2 separate regions of the Homo sapiens genome follow, and region 2 is linked to region 1. The links are contacts of gene promoters, found by promoter capture Hi-C in blood cells and fetal thymus (Javierre and others, 2016). All regions are on one chromosome and are shown on one strand. The core of a region is centred on a gene start or on the middle of the fragment in contact, and the rest is flanking DNA. Distances in the headings are between cores, read along the strand shown. Region 1 holds the start of SLC6A6 (solute carrier family 6 member 6). Region 2 overlaps LINC00620 (long intergenic non-protein coding RNA 620).

Region 1 (2,972 bases), core at 237-2,736:
TGCCCAGTGGTCCTCGTCTGTCTTGGCTGGAGCCAGTATGAGGAGCACCCACTGGAAGGTCAGGTTGGAGTCCGATGGCAGGGGCCTCCAGGGAGAGCCAGTGTCACTTCGGGATGCTCCTTAGCATCCTGGGGCTGTACAGGGAGAGTGGCTGCAGAGCCCTTCCAGGCAGGGATCCTGGCCTGAGTGGGGGCAGCTCTTGGTCGGACCTGTGTGGTATTTCTTCTTCTTCTTCTTTTTTGTTTTTTTGAGACTCATTCTTGTCACCCAGGCTGGAGTGCAGTGGCGTGATCTCGGCTCACTGCAACCTCCGCCTCCCGGGTTCAAGGGATTCTCCTGCCTCAGCCTCCTGAGTAGCTGGGATTATAGGCACCCGGCACCACGCCAGGCTAATTTTTGTACTTTTAGTAGAGACGGAGTTTCGCCATGTTGGCCAGGCTGGTCTCGAACTCCTGACCTCAGGTGATCTGCCCCCTCGGCCTCCCAAAGTGCTGGGATTACAGGCATGAGCCACCGCGCCTGGCCGGTATTTCTTCTTTCATTCTCCGTGTAAATGGTGGAAGGATCGGCTCTCTCCTCCCCGCCTCCCAGGTGCAGAGAGAGAGAGAGAGAGAGAGGGACAGGAGAAGGCTGGGGTTCGGGGTTCTCACAGCGTTTCCCTCTCATGCTGCCAGGGCGGGGCAGTGGAAAATGGTCCCTGAGGGCCCGTTCATTCAAATAAGGACAAGAATAATGGCACACTCCCCATCTCCATTTAAAAATAGTCACATTAGCTGACACTGGCTTGGCACTTCCTAGATGCCGGGTGCGTTCCGAGTTCTCTACGCTGTTAACCTTGGATCTTCATAACAGCCGGAGGAGACAAGCGCTACTATTTTCCTTTCCATTTTATAGATGAGGACACTGAGGCAGAGAAATTGAGTCACTTGCCCAGGGTCACACAGCCATGGCAAGGCCAGGATTCTGGAGCTCTGTACCTGGCTTCACACCACAAGCTCAGGCCACCCTCCCGGGGCATACCGAGTCTCCCAGAACGTGGACGATCGCCCAGGGCAACGCAGTGGAGTGCGAGCCCGGTCTGGTTTGCACCTGGCTGCTCCAGGAGCCCTGGGCCTCATCCTAGGAGCCTGGCGGAAGAGGCGAGCGGTGGAGTTTGGAGGCTGCTGTGAAGGAAAGGACTAGGCGGGTCGGGTCGGGTCTGTCCTGCTCTTCTTCCGCAGGCAGGAGGCGCCCAGGGCGGGCTGCCGCACCTGGCAACGAACGTTCGCCGCGCGGCATGAGGGTGTGCGCGCGCGCTCGGCGAGCCCGGGTTCTTTGTGTGTCCGAGCCCATGCGCGCGTGCGTGTTTGCGTGTATGTGTGTGCATGTGTATGTGTGCGCGCGTGTGTCCGCACTTGGGGCGGGGCTGGAAGCCCCGGCCCCGCCCCGGCCCCGCCCCCGGCCCGGCCGAGCTGGTATTTTTCCACCCAGCAGGATGGGTGATGCTGAGAGCTGCCTGCTCAGACAACAGACACGCGAGGTCAGGAAGAAGCCGCTTATAAATTACCGCTTCCTTCGCGCCGCCGCCAACGCCGAGCCCCGAGGACCGCAAGCCCAGAGGACAAGCTGCGCCAAGAGGGAGTGCGGAGCGTTCACCCAGCGGGTCAGAGAGCGAGCGGGCAGGCAGCCCCCGGCCGGCGGAACCCGGCACAGCCGAGCAGAGCGCGGGCGGCGCCGCAGCCACCCCAGGTACCGGAGGGACCGGGAGCTGGGCGCGCAGCCGGCGCTGCCCGCCGTCTGCAGCCCCTCCCCATCCCCGCGTCGCCGCAGTCCCGGCCTCCTCCCCTCCGCGTGCGCCCATCCGGCGCCCCTTTCACCACCGCGGAAGGGACCGAGAGTCGCCTGCTCAGTCCCGCTGGCGGGGCTGTTATTGTTTCCCCGGCAAAAGGGCTCCGGCTCTTGGTGCGGGCGGCAGGAGAGTGTGTGTGTGTGTGTGTGTGTGTGTGTGTGTGTGTGTGTGTGTGTGGCATATCTGTGTGCCTGTCTCCGTCAGGATGCCTACATGTGCCTCCGTATCCCTGTGTCTGTGTTTCTGAGGGTGACTGTTTCACCGTGTCCCCAGCAGCGTGCACATGTGTGTTCCGGTGCATGTCTGTTATTCTCTGCGTGCTGGGCTGTGTGTGTGTGCCTCTCTGTGTGTGATACCTGAGTGTGCTGTCTTTGGATGTGTGCTCTTGTGTGTCCCCGTTTGTGTCTGCATGAATCTGTGTGTGGGGGGCTGCGTCTTCCAGGCCCTGGCTAGGTGCACGTGCGTGTCCCTGAGTGTGGTTGTGTCTCCAGGTCCCTGGTTGTGGGCACTCGTGTGTCCTCGGCTGTACCCAAGAGGGTGTCCCTGGTGCCTAGAGGGTCCAATGGCCAGAGCTGGTTCTCCAGGGCCGGCGCTGAGTGGGGAGAGGTGATAGGGCAGCGTGGCTCCATAGGTGCATGCACTCCATAGGTGGTGTGCAGGTGGCAGCGCCAGCGTCCAGCAGTCCTGAGTGGTGGGACCAAGGCCCGGAGGGGCAGCCAAGGGGTAGTGGACAGCCGGCAGGGCCAGCAGGACACTTCCCCCTCCAGACTATTTCTCTTCCTTCTGTGGGTTCCTCTTTTGAGTAGGAGATTCTCGTCCCCCTCCCACTAGGGAAGCCACACAGAGAGAATTCCAGGGACCTCCTCCTACAGCCTCAAAGCTTCAGCCTGGACTTCAGCCTGGACTGGAGAGGAGACCTGTGGGCAGCTCTCCCAGGCAGGGAGGTGTGTGCCGGGTAGGGCCACCGGCCTGGCTATTTTGGTCACTGTTGGGCCTCTGCCAGATCCCGGCATCCCCAGGACCAGCCCCAAAAGCTTGGGAGGCAGCCTGGGCCCCCGTTTCCTGTCTGGGGAAATAAATCAGCTCAGTAATTGCCCAGACACTTGAATGGAGGGTCTTCGGGCTGAGGTTTACTGGCGCATGG
Region 2 (2,972 bases), core at 123-2,622, 740 kb before region 1:
TTCCCAGGAGAGAGTGATGACAACAGCTGTCGGGCCATCCTCGAAAGGTGCTGGGCAGGTGGAGGGCAGCCCTCGGTGCCCCTGGTTGTCCCCTGAGCCATCCATCCCTCTTCCCTGCTGTGGCTTCCATGCCCTGAGCAGCAAGTGGGAGGTGAACAGTAGTTGGAGAGGGGGCAGGTGGGCACACCAGGTGTGGGTGCTTATGAAGGCACAGATTCAGAGCAGGGACAGGTTCAACATCAGTGAGATGGGGGCTTTGTGACCATCTTCAGTAGCCTCGCACTGTACCTACATGGAACTGAAGCAGAGGAGGATAAGGGACTTGCCCAAAGCCACATGGCCAGACAGAGGTGTGTAGGACGAAGTGGGCCAAGCCCGTATGTCTCTTGCATGAGCAATGTCCATGCCTGATTCATTTCTATAGACCCCTCTGTATCAGCATGGAGCAGCATGAAGATATATTTGTTGAGTGGATGACTGTGTCTGTCAGGCCACATTACCAAAGGTCTATACTTGCAACGAGGGAGGGGACATCCAGTTTTGCTTTATTCTCTGAGCTCTCTGGCTCCTATGCTCAGCTCCAGACACATCAGTGGACCCTGAGATGAACAGCAAGCCCTGGAGACAGCATTCTGTCAGGAGATGGGGTGGCTCAGCTTGGAGGGGGTCCCCACTGCTGTCCCTAATTCTCTGCAGGGTTGTCCTGGGGCAGAAGGGTTAGGAGGAGCTGGTAGATCTGTGGGCAGGACCGGGACCTTGGGAAGACAGGTCCCAAGCTTATGAAGAAGTCTCCCAGTTTTACTCATAGCTGCCGTATGGGGGTGAACAAGTTGGGACAGCTATTTAGTGGAAATGTTCATGCAGTTATTTTTCCAAAAGTCTTTATCGGTCACCTACTGTGTGCCAGACACTGGAGCTGATATTATTTTACTGGAGAATTTGATAGTCAACAAATAAACAAATCGATAGTATGACATTAGATGGAGACAAGTAGGAAGATGAACAACAAAGCAGGACTGGGGTCAGAGGGCACCAGCGAGGGGCCTTGGTTAGACAGCGGGGCTGCCATTGGGCGGGAAATGGGATGATGTGAAAAGCGAAGCGAAGAGTGCGCCAGGCAGAGGGACCTGCAGGAGCAAAGGCTGGGAAGTGGGAATGTGCTGACAAGAGGCGTGGCTGGAGTGTAGTGAGCGAGACTCCCGGGCAGTACTGTGCCCTGCACCCCAGTGCCCTCTTGCCTTCTGCCCGGTGCAGTCACCCCTTCCTTACTCAAGCCCGTTCCACAGCCCCAAAGCTCCACGGCCCCAAAGCTCCACAGCCCCAGAGCTCCACAGCCCCAAAGCTCCACAGCCCCAGAGCTGCGTGGCTCCGGAAGGCTGCGTCAACCCCAGCGACCACACGGAGGCAGCAGAGAACACGGCTGGGACGAGGGCGGAGGGTGAGGACTGAATCTGAGCACCCTGGGGACTCCCAGGTAGCCGGGGCTGGAGACAGGACCCCTCCCTTGCTGCTTCTTTGTACCCAGCATCACATCTCTCTTCGAAAGTTCCTCCCTCCTAAGCAGCATGAACAGTGCCTGCTGAAATTACAGCTCCACTCCACTGCTCTGGAAGGCTCATCTCTTCAAGCCTCCATGCCTGCATCTGTGAAGTGGCAGCAAGCAGAGTTTCATCTCTAGGGGGGTACATCGCAAGTGCTCGGGAACGTTGTCTTCTTGCAACCATGTGTGCCTCACACAACTACCTGTGTGACTTTGGGCAACTCCCTGAGTCTCAGTTTCCACCCTCGTAAAGTGATGGTAGGACTATGGTGTGGGGATCTTCTGTATGCCAGGTACACATGCATAATGCATGCACAGATCCTGGCACTTAGTCAATGCCCAGTGACAATAACTAGTAATCATGACAATTGCATTGATGACCTGGGGGCTTAGAGTCGGGAGAGACCTGCTATTCGGAGGAGAACATTGAAGCTTGGGAAGAAGAGGTGTTTGCCCACCATATACTCACCAGGAATGAGAGGCCCAGGGGTCCCCTCAAGACTTTTGTCCATTTGACAGATGGGGACGCTGAGGTCGGGAGAGGGTTGGCAGCCTGGCCAAGGCCACCCTGTGGCAGGCATAGGACTAGAATCCAAGATGCCTGCTTCCCTTCACGGCTCATCCAACCATGTCTTGGGGCCCTCCCTTCTAGGGCAGGTGGTTTCTCAGGCTGCAGCTCCGGATGTTCCTTTTTCTTCTCCAACCTCCCCCCGCCCACACCCATGCCAGACTGTGTAATCTTGGAAAGCTGCATTCTTGGAAATCTGGTCCCTTCTAGTCTTTGAATTCTTCGAACTTCCTATTGGAGCTGCGGCCCCTAGTTCCCGATGGTGCCTGGGAGGGAGCCTCCTGATTTTGATGTTTTTCAGAGGGAATGAGGTGTTTCCAGTAGGTGGGCAGCCCAGGGTGGGTGGGTGGAGGTGGCAGTGTGGATGGCAGTTGGATGCAGAGAGGAGGAAGGGGACTTGGGGGGGCACCTGTGAGCCCCCTTCCACGGGACTTTTCCCCGGGGTGCACTTTCCCCCTTGGCTTGGAGAGGAAACAGTTTTCCATGTTCCTTTCTCTCTGTGTGCTTGGGAGACACCCACAGCCCTCTTGGAATAATTCCTCTGAAACCTCCAATACCTCCAGCGTCTCCCGGGGTATTTTTCTTGTGGTTAAGGTGGTATTTACAGTGAAAACAGCTATTGAAACGAATCGCAAAAATAATGTCAGTGTTTCCACTTTTGACAAAAATGGGAAGGCAGGTGGTTTCATGTCTGCGATAAGCGCATTGCTCCTGCAATAATTACTATTTGAGATAATTATGAAAAAGAATTTAAATACTTAAGGCATGCACAGGGGCCAGGACAACTTTCTTTTGCCTTATTCATAATTTCTGCTGCAAGTTGGAGTCTTGTCCTGACTGGGACGTGGGGTGGGCGTGGGATGC

The links. Contacts are between HindIII fragments. The CHiCAGO score rates a contact against its expected background, and 5 or more counts as called.
Region 2: a contact is called between a fragment that was not itself captured here and the fragment with the promoter of SLC6A6 in region 1, in 1 of 17 cell types (total CD4 T cells). The highest score is 7.5, in total CD4 T cells.

Annotation. Positions count from the first base shown.
Region 1 is chr3:14,401,120-14,404,091 of GRCh38, forward strand. SLC6A6 (solute carrier family 6 member 6) reads left to right here and starts at 1,487. Exons shown (of 15, transcript NM_003043.6): 1 at 1,487-1,728. It overlaps LOC105376959 (a long non-coding RNA gene), which reads right to left and starts at 1,288. Exons shown (of 8, transcript XR_007095825.1): 1 at 1-1,288. RefSeq lists enhancers at 911-960, 971-1,140, 2,461-2,520, 2,591-2,670 and a silencer at 1,281-1,810. The HindIII fragment of the contact is 4,510 bases long and covers 1-2,706 here.
Region 2 is chr3:13,656,618-13,659,589 of GRCh38, forward strand. All of the region lies in intron 1 of LINC00620 (long intergenic non-protein coding RNA 620), which reads left to right. Among named protein-coding and RNA genes, the nearest start is that of LINC00620, 7.4 kb to the left of the region's middle. The HindIII fragment of the contact is 1,196 bases long and covers 775-1,970 here.